3 separate regions of the Homo sapiens genome follow, and regions 2 and 3 are each linked to region 1. The links are contacts of gene promoters, found by promoter capture Hi-C in blood cells and fetal thymus (Javierre and others, 2016). All regions are on one chromosome and are shown on one strand. Each heading gives the region's core, a stretch centred on a gene start or on the middle of the fragment in contact. The rest is flanking DNA. Distances are from core to core; before and after follow the strand shown. Region 1 holds the start of ECT2 (epithelial cell transforming 2). Region 2 has its middle 10 kb from the start of ACTRT3. Region 3 overlaps PHC3 (polyhomeotic homolog 3).

Region 1 (4,248 bases), core at 911-3,410:
AAAATCAGGCAACTCAGCTTCCTGTCTCAGCCCTGCACATAGTCAGTTAAACCTCAGTTTCCACATTGGTGGAACACACATAGTACTACAACTCAAATCTAGTTAAGATGAAAACTGAATAGATGTCTTAAAGTGAACAACAAACAACTATTCTCATGTAATATTCACAATATGGATATTTCTTATGGCTTTACCATACATCCATGTCAATCATTATTCTAAGGCTCTCCAAAGGAGCGGTCCAATAGTTGTAACAGCCTTAATTTAGAATCAATGATAAATTCTATCCAGCCCTATTATTTTAAGTCTTCTACACTCAACCATTTCCAATGAAAAGGCATTAAAGTGGCTTTCATTCAAAGTCCCCTTAAAAGAATGTTTAAAAAAAAAAAAAAGTCAGGAGATGAGCTAACCTGCTTTAAGGACTGGAAGAGGAAAATCAAAAATACCATTTGAAAGGCCGGACGCGGTGGCTCACACTTGTAATCCTAGCACTTTGGGAGGCCAAGGCGGGCGGATCACGAGGTCAGGAGTTCGAGACCAGCCTGGCCAACACAATGAAACCCCGTCTCTACTAAAAATACAAAAATTAGCTGGGCTTGGTGGCAGGCACCTGTAATCCCAGCTACTCAGGAGGCTGAGGCAGGAGAATCGCTTGAACCCGGGAGGCAGAGGTTGCAGTGAGCCGAGATCGTGCCACTGCACTCCAGTCTAGGTAACAAGAGGTAGACTCCGTCTAAAAAAAAAAAAAAAACTTCTTGAAAATATTTACATTTTTCTCCTATGCCTCCCTCTTTAAGAGGGAGCACAGCAAATGATCAAAAGCAGATGATTAATAAAAGGGAGGGAGCATAGCAGATGATCGAAAGCAGATGATTAATAATTAAAATTGCCCCTGATGATACTGTATATGATCAATTTATTGCCAAAACAGCTTCAAAATGTATAGAGAAAAAGAGATGCACTACGGTAACTTGATGACATAACTAACATCCAACAGTCAGATTAGAAATGGAAATATATTAATCACTTTTTTTCAAATTACTGTATTCCAGAAGCCTTTAAAATAAGCACAATAGGATCAGTGTTCATAAACCTACACAGCTTCTCACCCAAGAACAGACCCAAGGAGCTTCTAACTAAACACACTATAACACATGCCCCCTTTTATCCCAGAGATAAAATTTGCCATGTAAACAAACATTCAAGTTTCCTTTTACTTAAATACTTTTTAGGCAATCATCTTCCAAGGTGAAGGACTAAAATGCAATCCAAGATATAATGGTGGTGTTATTAACAATAACATTACTATTAACAACTGACATTTACTTAACGCTTAATACGTGGCAGACATTGTCCTAAACCTTTTAATCTCTGCAGTAATCCTAAGAGGCAGGTACTATTATTATTTTCAATGTATGGATGAAGAAACGTAGGAACAGAGAGGTTAAGCAACTTCCCCTAAGTCAAACTGTTAGTAAGGGGTAAAAGAGGTATTCAAAGCCCGGCTAAATCCAGAGGCTGCGCCTTTAACCACTAAGCCGGACACATCTGTGCCGGGTGGCTGGGGAGGACGAGGGGCGGATGGCCTGGATTTATCTTGCAAAAACGAAAAATTAAACTTCCCGCAAAGAAGCCAGGATGAATCCTAGAATAAAACCACGGCGCACTCTGAGATAAGCCCCCAAAGGCTGCAAGTGCCGGCCCCCAAAGCCACAGGGCTGCGCGGCTTGCCAAAATCCCTTTCCCAACTCCCTCCCTTCACCCACACTCTTCTGTCCAAAAGAGCCAACAGGTGAGGGCGAAGATGCCCAGCAATACTGGGGGCTTCGGTCTCCCACTCCGCGTCAGGGCCCGGCTGCTGGGGGTGGGGTGCGGCGAGGGAGTTCCCGGATCCGGGAAGCCTGAGCTGGGGCGCTCCGGAATTCGCGGTCACTAGGGGCGGGGACGTCGACCGCAGGCAAAAGAGCCCTTGGCTCTGGAGCCGCTCGCCCACTTGCACCTCTCTCACTCACACAGAGTCCTTACCACTCTCAAAAAAGCCCTAGGAGTTCCACCTCTTCAAACGCCGACTCCTCTCACAAATACCGCCATTCCTCGCCGGCGGCCGCCACAACCGATTCAAAAACTAAGCTGCTCTCTCTAAGAGCCATGCCGATTGGCGCGTGATGTCAACCTCTTTCCCATAGGCAGGAGTCTCCAGAGGGGCGGTGATTGGTCGACGCTCTCCAAGTCCCGGCAGGCGCCGCTTGATTGGTTGTGCGTGTGTTTCAAATAAGCCCAACGACTCGGGCGTCGGGACGCCAGGAGTTTGCAGAGAAGTGCCCGGATGTGGCCAGGAGGTGGCGGTGGTGGCTCCTGAGGTCTTAAAGGAGTAGCAGGTGTTTCTGTGACTACCGCATATTTACTCAGTAAACATCCTACTTCCTGAGGAAAGTTTGGGTGGATTCTCCTCGGCCCCACCCAGCTTTTTTTTTTTTTTAAACGATACCAAATCTTTTAAGCTTAAATCAGTGCCGCCAGAGATAAATGTTTCCCTGCTGCTTGCTGTGAGCTGTAGGATTTTCCTATCGGGATGCTTTCTGCTTTAGGAATGTATTTAAATTTGAGTTAAGGGATTTTGACTTTGATGGTTGTATTGGCGTGTGGCAGGGCCAAGGACCGGTCCTAGAACTCGGACTCCCCAGGTGGACTTCAAATCAGCAGCCGCTTATTTAAATGCTATTATTTAAAGCACTGCGCTCCCATCTAGGGAGTATCGCGGGTTAGAATCAATTCTTAGAAATTAGAAAAATTCTCGGATTTTTTTAAAGATAAGCTTGAATTTGATAAAAATATGCCACGAGATTCTAGAATTTTTGGAGCCAAATTGCTTCGTCTTTGCCCCCCTCCGCCCACTAAGAACTTGTACTTTCCCCTAAAGTCTAGTCAAGAATGTATCAAGTTTTTCCTGTGATTAGCGTTGCTATTATGAAAATAATTTCTTTATTTTCTAAATATGATACCATATAACACAATCTCTTAAGAAAAATACACCCCCACCAGGTGGGTTTTCCATAGTTCCCACCTGAAGGCTAATATAAATAGAAGAAGAAAGGGGAATCAGATGCCAGAACCTAAATACCAATAAGAAGAGGCAAACGTGTACTTTGGGATGGAACACTTGTGAGCATCTCAAGCAGGTTGTGGGGACTTAACAATTTTTTCTAATTTTGTCAGGCAATCTTAGAATGCCTGAAAAGTTTATAATGCTGTCCACAAAATGAATGAAGCAATCTGGTAATTATTGGTTTCCCTGCTTGTCAGTATTTAAGTCTGACCTTCATTAAAATGCTGTGATAACTGTTACGGCAGAAAAAAAGAAAAACAGTAATTGAAATTTCCATTTGGAATGTGCTTGCGTATTTGGAAGTCGGGTGTGCCCAGCATTCCAAAAACGTTCATCACTGAAAACATATTAAGCTATTGTGGGAAGCAGCCCTACTTCCTTTGTGCACCGCTTTCTGCTCAACAGACTTTCCAAAGCTAATGATTAACTGTGTATGGTATCATTGCCATGAATTTTAAGCTTCCCTAACAAAAGCTGTACTTGATTTCTTTTAAGGGATGTGTGGCAGTTAGATTAACAAATAAACGGGTAATACAACCTTTTTCACTCTCTTAGGTCTTCATTTACTCAGCAAATATTTACTAATTTTAAGACAGCCATTGTGCTTGTTGGGGTTATAAAGATGAATAAGGCATAGAAAACTGCCTGTCTGGACCACACAATCTGGTGAGGGAAATTAGCAGATAAACAGATAATTACAGTATAAGGGAGAGAAGAAAGAGAATGAACATACTGATACTTTACTATGCACTTTATACCTTATTTAATCCTTAAAACAACCCACAAGTAGGTATCATAGTCCCATGATACCATGAAACTGTAGGAAAGGTTTAAGTAACTTACCCAGTGTCTCCTAATAAATATTTTAGCCCGCATTAGAACCCAGAAATAATAGATGAGTGTAAATAAAGTCTAGTATAGATCTGTCTGCAGGCTCAAAGAAAGCAATGTGGAGAGGAGTATTTCAGATAATCGTGTGCATAGGTGATCATATGCCACTTAATTGCACCTAGCAGAGGGCTGGTGTCTGGTAAAGTAAAACATGATCCCTCATCTTCAGGTATTTTCAAAAAGCTAGTACTGCAAAGGCAAATGTTACACATTGCTCTCTAATAAACACAGGAATCTTCACATGTAGG
Region 2 (4,248 bases), core at 688-3,187, 3.0 Mb after region 1:
ACTTGTTCTCTTTATTTTGTTACTTAGGTTGTATTTCACATGAAGGATGTGAGAATTTTATGCGTATGAAGGAAGCATTAGCTTTAAAAATACTGAGAAACATGCTTTTTCTTTTGTCCTTCAGAATGAGGGGCTTCCTTTGTAAGGTCTGGAGTTGGTTATGGGTTTTGACTCTGAGGATGACATTGAGTTTTAATTCAGCTTGTCCTGGTTCTGCAGTCAAAAATTCCATGTTAGCCTGGCTCGAGACTTAAGAGACAAATAGATGGCACAGGCACAAGCGTGTGTACACATGCACCCACCGTCATACAAAGTGTAAGGGAGGAGTGGTTTTAAATAAGATGAGAATGAAGTGACAAAAGGTAACTGTCATTCCTTCATGTTCATTCTTTTAAGGTAATAATATGTGATGGAAGTAAAAACAGCGAAAATACCCAAGAATTAGCCCAGGATATGCAAATTTAAATGTCTGCAGTGGACAGAAAGGAAACAAAGAAGTGAATCACACTGGGAATAAGAAAATGGAGACTATAGAGATGGTAGGGAGAATGAGCTTCCCTTTTTAAGGAGGCAGCAATCTTACAGAAATTGAGCCTAAAATTGTCAGTATTGCAAGAGAAGACAAAAATTCAGATTTTTATGTCAACACCACTGATTATAGAATGTTGGTAGCTAAATTGAAATAAAATTTAAATATTATATAAGTGCATGGTAAAGAATTTGGATGGCTTTTGTTCCTGAACCCTGGGAAGTAGCCTCTAAACCCTTGGAATTCACCAAGAATGGTGGGAGTGTCTTTTCTTGGTAGGCCTCTTGGACTAGACCCAATAGTTTACACTAACGAGATGACTCATGACTGGGGGTTGGTCAGCCATGTGATTAGAGTGTTGGGGCTTTGGGCCCCATGATACTAGCCCGACCTCTTGAGAGACTTGGAGCCACATGTCTGAGCCTTATGACTAGTGATTCATCCAATCATGCCTGTAATGAAGCCCCAATAAAAACTCTGGACACACTGAAGCTTGGATGAACGTCCGTGGTTGGCAGTACTCAGTGTGCTAGGAGGAAAATGTGTCCCTGAGGACATGAGGAGAGGGACAATGGAACCTTCTTTCTGGGACCCTCCCAGACCTCACTCTATGTGTCTCTCCCTTTGGCTGGTTTTGATTTGAATCCTTTTGCTATAATAAAACCATAATAATAACTATAATAAACATCCTTTTGCTATGATAAAACTGTAATAAAACCGAAATAACACTTTCCTGAGTTCTCTAAGTCATTCTACTGAATTATGAAACTTGAAGGGGTAGTGGGAACCCCTAAATTTGTAGGCAGCTTGTCAGATGTAAGGATGGCCTGGGGACCTCCTAGCTTAGGTTGTTGATAGCTGAAGTCATTGCAATGCACCAATAAAAAAACGTTTTGAGATAAAATCTGGTCTATTATAGGCTATTAATTTGCGACCTTTGGCCTAGGCAAATTTAAGCATTCCTGAGTGCTTTCTCTAGAAGGGTGAGGGTTTGGACCATCCTACCAGTTTGAGGCCTACCCAAAATAAATGTATTTGAGAGGAGTTTACACTGGTGGTATCTGTTATAGGTTTCTGGGAATATCACTAAAGAGAAGTTTCAAAATTAAATTTTAATAATATTCTGAAAATAGTAGTGCTAATCCTTCACGTATAGGGGTTAGGGTATTTCTTCCAGTGGTTCTGCCTGAGGGGTGGGCCTGTTTTTCAGTGTCCATTCTGTCAGTCGTTATGGGATGTGAAGAGGGTTCCAAGGGTTCCACCATCACTAGGTGGAAATGAGGCAACTTTTCCCATATTTTTCCTTTACTCTGGTTTGTATCTCCCCTCCTAGGTAGGTATCAAAGTATATATGGTCTTCATTTGTGTTGCCTCAAATTCTCATTTCTTCCTTGATATAAAAAGGAAACAGGAAGACATTGAAATAAGGATATTATTGTGGTCCTGTACTTTTACCCTGTTCTAACCTAGCTGAGGGAATCTAGCATAAGTCACCCAACTTTACATTCCACATGTGTCAACCGGATGTACTAAGACTTCCCTTGAAGGGTGGTTGTGGGGAGAATATATGAGTAATATATATGACAGCAACTGGTATTATTAATGAGAGGAGAAGTCTGTCTTACTCTTTACTTTGCAAGTAATGATTTTACAGCGCTCTGATGGGTATGTTGTAGTTACTCTGGCAGGAAGTGGTTTTGACTTGGGTATATAGTTAAGAGATATATGGAGAAGGGTGGAAGTGCTAATGGTTTGTGAATTTTTAAAATAACACCAATTATGAACTTGATGCACACCTGCAGCTAGAATCTTTCTCTAGATGATGTTTGACTATCATTTTTTTTTTTTTTTTTGTCTTGGGGCTCTAGGTTTTCACTTTGGTGATATTTATGTGTGTACTATGGCTGTCTATATAAGTGTTAAAAGGCATAATTATAGTTATTAAAAACAATTTAAGGAAAACAGAAAAATGCAATAATGAAGAAATACAAATACTGACTTTTTTGTATGATCAATGAGGATATTATAACTAAAATGAAAAACATTATACATATCAGTTGCAAAAACAGTTACATTCCCCACAATCTTTTTAAAAAATGCGAGTAGTTTGCTAAAGTGAACTGGGTGACTTATTTTCAACCTTGGAAGAAAAACTCAATTAAAGCTACATTTGAACTGTAATGGCACCAAGGAGTTCAACTTGACCTCATATGCCAGATTATAATCATCTTTCAAGTGTACAAACAAGGAAGCATAGTTATCAAAGAATGAGAAATACGTTTGTTCAAAGACCATTTACTGCTTTAACAAGAGGTGAAAGCTTGCCAGAAATATATAAACACCTACCCCAGTGCTATTCATAGGCTTAACATGTTCAAAGACTTGGGGGCGGAGGGGGGGCAATTTAAAAATATCTTTGAAGTTGTGGGTATTCATCATCATATCTAATAATGCTTACTTTCTAGAGCCCCTCTCCAAGGAGGGCAAAGCAATTTATCTGACTTATTTTCATGACATCCTTGTGAGATAAGGCAACCACCATTATCTCCCTTCTGCAAATGGAGAAACTGAAACGTTGGGAGGTAAAATCACTTGAAGAAGGTCAGTAGCAGGCCTAAGAATGTAAATACACGCATTTTAGCTTTTAACTGCTATTTTACTTTACAGAAAACTAAACAAACAAAAAATAATTTTAAAAAAATCACATACTTTTTCATTCTCTTTTTAAGTTAAAGAATAATTACTCATCTATCAACTTTTCCTTGGTAAGGAAAACAGTTTAAATGGCTTTTCACAATAACTGGAATCTTATTATACTGGAATGAATGAACCACTTGCAAAGTTGTGATGTTCATTTAACAAACACTAAATACCTAGTCTGCAACATGTTGTATTGTTCAGGGTGTTGAGACTTCAAAGGTGAAACATATATTCCTCATCTTTAAAGGTCTTCCTGGAGAGAGAGATTCTATAAGCAAATTATATGGTGCAGTCTCATGTTATTTAAATTTACTAAATTCATCATTTTATCCCCCAAATCTATTTTTTCTTCCCTTTCCCCTTCCCGTAAATGCTACTGCTACACCCAGGAGCTAAAACCAGTCTTCTGGGCACCACTGCTGATGTCTCATTTTCCCCGCACCCTGCCGTGTCCTCTGGTCTATTTTTTTTTTTTTTGAGATTGGGTCTTGCTCTGTTTCCCAGGCTGGAGTGCAGTGGTGTGACATAGCTCACTGCAGCCCTGAGGCTGAGGTGCGAGGGTCACTTGAGCCCAGGAGTTAGCACAGAGGCAAATGCTAAGTAATCTAATTAATAATGCTTTCTAATTTTTTCAGTTACAAAATTAATGTGACAATATCATAAAAAAAGGTGAGAAATAGAGGGACTACAGATGTGCACCGCCAGCCTAATTTTTAAAATAATTTTTTTGAGAGTCAGGAGCTTGCTATATTGCCCAGGCTGGTCTTGAACTCTTGGCCTCAAGTGATCCTCCCACTTTGGCTTCATTTCTACTACCTTAATCTAGTTCACTATCTTTTTTTTTTTTTTTTTTTTTTTTTGGAGAGAGAGTCTTGTTCTGTTGCCCAGGCTGGAGTGCAATGGTGTGATTTTGGCTTACTGCAACCTCCACCTCCCAGGTTCAAGTGATTCTCCTGCCTCAGCCTCCCAAGGAACTGGGATTACAGGCACGTGCCACAACGCCCAGCAATTTTTGTATT
Region 3 (4,248 bases), core at 610-3,109, 2.6 Mb after region 1:
CAGGTGCATGCCACCATGCCTGGCCAAGTTTTGTATTTTTAGTAGAGACAGGGTTTCACTATGTTGGCCAGGCTAGTCTTGAACTCCTGACCTCAGGTGACCTGCCTGCCTTGGCCTCCCAAAGTGGTGGGATCACAGGCATGAGCCAACCTGCCCAGCTGCTTTGTAATTTTATATGATTATTAATAATACCTGCTCATTGTAAGATTTTCAGACATCTATAGAAGAGTATGAAGTAGAAGCTAAAAATCACCTCTAATCTAGCTACCCATCAGTGGTCTTTGAAAGTTTTCCTGTGGATTCTTTCAAATATTTTAATATAAAAATGGTATCTTACTCTATATACTATTTTGTAACCCACTGATTTTCTTTTTGTTAGTAAATATAGATCGGTATCAGCAATGTACACTATAGTGGCCAGTAGTTACTTGTGGCTGTTTACATTAAAATTAAAATTAATTAAAATTCAATTTAAAATTAACTCAATTCTTTAGTTGCACTAACCACATTTTAAGTGCTCAGTAGGCACATGTGACTAGTTGTTACTGTATAGGACAGCACTGATCTACATTACTATTTGTTATGGTTGCATGGTAAAGGTATTTCTCTCCACACCCAAGCCCTGAATTCTACGAAGTTTTATCCAAAAAGGTTATGCCAACTTGAATTTTTACTAGCAATATGGGAGTATTGGTTTCCCCAGGTAGTAGTAGTATTCTTTTAAATCTTTATCCATCTGAAAGTTGGAAAACAGTATCTTGTTTTAATTTGTAAGTTTTTGACTACTGGTGAGATTGAAAATCTTTTGAAATGCTTAGTTGGCCTGGCCTGTCTTTTGCGAATTGTCCACTGGGTTTTGTTTTGTTTTTTTTTTTTTGAGATGGGAGTCTTGCTGTGTCGCCCAGGCTGGAGTGCAGTGGCATGATCTTGGCTCAACTGCAGCCTTCACCTCACAGGTTCAAGCGATTCTCCTGCCTCAGCCTCCCGAGTAGCTGGGGCTACAGGCATGTGCCACCATGCCTGGCTAATTTTTTGTGTTTTTAGTAGAGACGGGGTTTCACCATGTTAGCCAGGATGGTCTTGATCTCCTGACCTTGTGATCCGCCCACCTCGGCCTCCCAAAGTGCTGGAATTAACAGGCGTGAGCCACCGTGCCCGGCCCACTGGGTAGTTTTAATGTGTACAAGTTAGTGATTTCTAGTGATATGTAACTAGGAAAGAAATAATGTTAATAAGCTTGATGATATTATGTATTAAAGCAGTGAAATTTTAAACTGCCACTTTTTTATACTTTGATTTTCTGATTAAGATAAAGGTTGAGATTATGGTTTGACATTGGTTCAATTGACTTATCACAGGTAATTCAACAGGCATTGCATCGGCCCCCCAGCTCAGCTGCTCAGTACCTTCAGCAAATGTATGCAGCCCAACAACAGCACTTGATGCTGCATACTGCAGCTCTTCAGCAGCAGCATTTAAGCAGCTCCCAGCTTCAGAGCCTTGCTGCTGTTCAGGTAAGACTAAAATAAGAGTTTATGAGATCAAAGTTTCTGTTATCTGTAGGTAGTTACTGAAAATAAATAGATTGGGTATTATTTCAGAGTTCTCAGATGTCCTGTGGTTATTTTTCCCGGAGGAAATATATTAATAGGTTGCCGAATAGAAGTTAATTGAGAAAAAGGGGATATGTTTTTTTATGTTACTCTGTTTCTAGCTTTTGTCTCAGTGCTTTTTATCCAGATTGAAGAAATGCTATGCTAGTTTATGTGTATAAAGTTCTAGGTACAACAGTGAGTACTTAGGCTTACATAAATTGTATTTTTACTAAAAATAAGATTAAAAAAATTATATAAGTAATTATACTCATTAAAAAATCAAACAATATTAAGTTGTTTATAAGAGATAAAGTAAAGCTGTTCCTTTTCCCTGTCTATCACTGTTTCCCGTTCTTCAAAGGTGGCCACAGTAACAATCTAATACATATTTCTCCAGAAATTTTTTATACAAAGATAGGTATATCCATTTTTCTAAAATCCAATCATATTATTCCTACTGATAACAGGATTTCATTATTAAATGCTTGTTTTTAAAAAAGATTTTTGTTACTATTGTACTATTTAAATAAAGCTGTGTAAGATTTAATCTTAAATCCCCTCACCAGAGGAGGATCTCAATTGACTGAACCTGAAAAAGGTTTATTTCTGTTACCAACAGATTCTCAGCTGTTGCTTCTTAGTAGTGTAATTTTTAAATAACATGTTTGTGATACAAGTTAGGAAACTGAAACCCACTCACTGGCTCTTGCTGTAGCTCTAATTTCTTTTTCATAACTCTGGAGTAGTGATTCCACTTTAAAGATGACAGAGACCCATAAAGTGAAACTGACAATAAAGTAGCTAATAAAATAAGATTAGTCTTTGGATCCCCTGTTTTCACCATTCAGCTTTTCCTTATTTAAAAAATCTGTTTAACCGAAGCTTAAGCCATGTTGACTATAAAATTAGTTGTTTCATACATAGGCCTTTTGACATTTATTGTTGTGGTTTTGTGTTATCATGGTACCAGAAAGTTCTTAACTTCAGGTTTTTACCGACATATTCTAAAAGTCTTACTATTTTAGGCAAGTTTGTCCAGTGGAAGACCATCTACATCTCCCACAGGAAGTGTCACACAGCAGTCAAGTATGTCCCAAACGTCTGTAAGTTCCCTAAATTTTTTTTTCCTGGATTTAAAATTTTAAAGAATTGTTTTCCAAAAGTAAACTGTTGTTATTTATGAAGCTGTTATTATAATTTGTTGCATGCTGTTTAAAGTAACAATTGCCCAGAAATAGAAATGATAAAATTCAAGAATTCAGAACTAATGTTAAACTTATGAAAATCTGAGTCTTAAAAAAATCTTTTTGTATTATTTCTTGTATATCCATTTGCACTGATCATGTTCAGATCTTATGTGGTTTCAGCTTTCTGTGTGTATTGAAAGCCTAAAATATACAATGCAGGGATATTGGCCATGAATTTACTGTGATATACAATAGTATGTCATGTCCTTGGTAGACATCTAAGCATTTCTAACTTTGTGCAATTCACATTTTAGAAATTATACTTTCAGCTTACATGAGTTATTTGGGTTCAATTTGCAAGTATCCATTCAAGATAGGGTAATTTATTTTGAGAAAGGAGTAAAAGAAAGCTGATTCGCTATATTGCACATATATATTGGGAAATTGTGCCAAGTTTCCCAGGTAAAATAAATTTATGGGCATGGTAATACTTGTTTAGCTTTTAATTTTGGTATAATTTTAAACTGCAATAATAATAAAAAAATTTCTGTATCTACTCTACTCAGATTAATCAATTATTGCATATTGCCCCATTACTTTATCATTCATTCTTTTCCACTACATGTATACATATTTTTTTCTGAGTCATTTGTAAGTTGAGATATGTTCCTTTATTCCTAAATACTTTGATGTGTATTTCCTAAGAACAAGGCTATTGTTTTTTGAAGCCACAGAAAAATTACTAAATTCAGGAAATATAACATTGATACAGTGCAGTTCATTTTCACATTTCATCATTTGTCTCAGGTTTCCCAACCTCATCACTATGGACATTATGAGCCAGATAATTCTTTGTTGTCAGGGGCTATCGTGTAATTTATAGGATGTTTAGCAGCATCCCTGGCTACTAGATGCCGGCAGCTTGTGGTCTTTCTCCTTCCTCTAGTGTGACAACTATAGGTGTTTCCTGGTGGGGGGCAAACTGCCTGTAGTTGAGAACCTAATAATGTCCTTTCTAGATATTTTTTCCTGGTCCAGAATGGTAATACTTTGATACTTCATAAAATTGGCTCCAATACAATATAGTTTGTAGGTTGTTAAGGAATTGAAGGTTAAGGAATTGTGCTCTATTTCTTCAGCTAAGGGTATGGTCTTTGCTAACTACATGCTGTGGTCAGCATATAGCTGTGGTTTTTTTTGTTGTTTGGTTTTTTTTTCTGGCTGTTGATCTGACTTTTTTTTTTTGGCGTGGGAATGTCCTGGAGTGTGAACAAGATTAGTTTAAAAAGTTCCCTATGACTTGAAGATGTTAGATTAAATGAAAAACTTAAATAATGTAACCTAGCTCTTAAGCATTAATACTGGAGTTTTTGTCATTGACATCAGATGTCTTTAATACAATGGTAATTAAGGAAAGGAGTGGTAAATATTTTGTGGGCTACTGAAGGAAATTATATAGACAAATT

The links. Contacts are between HindIII fragments. The CHiCAGO score rates a contact against its expected background, and 5 or more counts as called.
Region 2: a contact is called between a fragment that was not itself captured here and the fragment with the promoter of ECT2 in region 1, in 1 of 17 cell types (fetal thymus). The highest score is 5.1, in fetal thymus.
Region 3: a contact is called between a fragment that was not itself captured here and the fragment with the promoter of ECT2 in region 1, in 1 of 17 cell types (fetal thymus). The highest score is 7.8, in fetal thymus.

What each region holds. Positions count from the first base shown.
Region 1 is chr3:172,748,638-172,752,885 of GRCh38, reverse strand. It overlaps ECT2 (epithelial cell transforming 2), which reads right to left and starts at 2,160. Exons shown (of 25, transcript NM_001258315.2): 1 at 2,029-2,160. RefSeq lists a silencer at 1,745-1,814 and enhancers at 1,925-2,184, 2,205-2,254, 2,355-2,624. The HindIII fragment of the contact is 5,304 bases long and covers 1-2,506 here.
Region 2 is chr3:169,757,338-169,761,585 of GRCh38, reverse strand. No RefSeq gene overlaps it. Among named protein-coding and RNA genes, the nearest start is that of ACTRT3, 10 kb to the left of the region's middle. The HindIII fragment of the contact is 1,828 bases long and covers 1,024-2,851 here.
Region 3 is chr3:170,169,823-170,174,070 of GRCh38, reverse strand. It overlaps PHC3 (polyhomeotic homolog 3), which reads left to right. Exons shown (of 15, transcript NM_024947.4): 3 at 1,359-1,514; 4 at 2,621-2,698. Among named protein-coding and RNA genes, the nearest start is that of PHC3, 9.8 kb to the left of the region's middle. The HindIII fragment of the contact is 1,241 bases long and covers 1,239-2,479 here.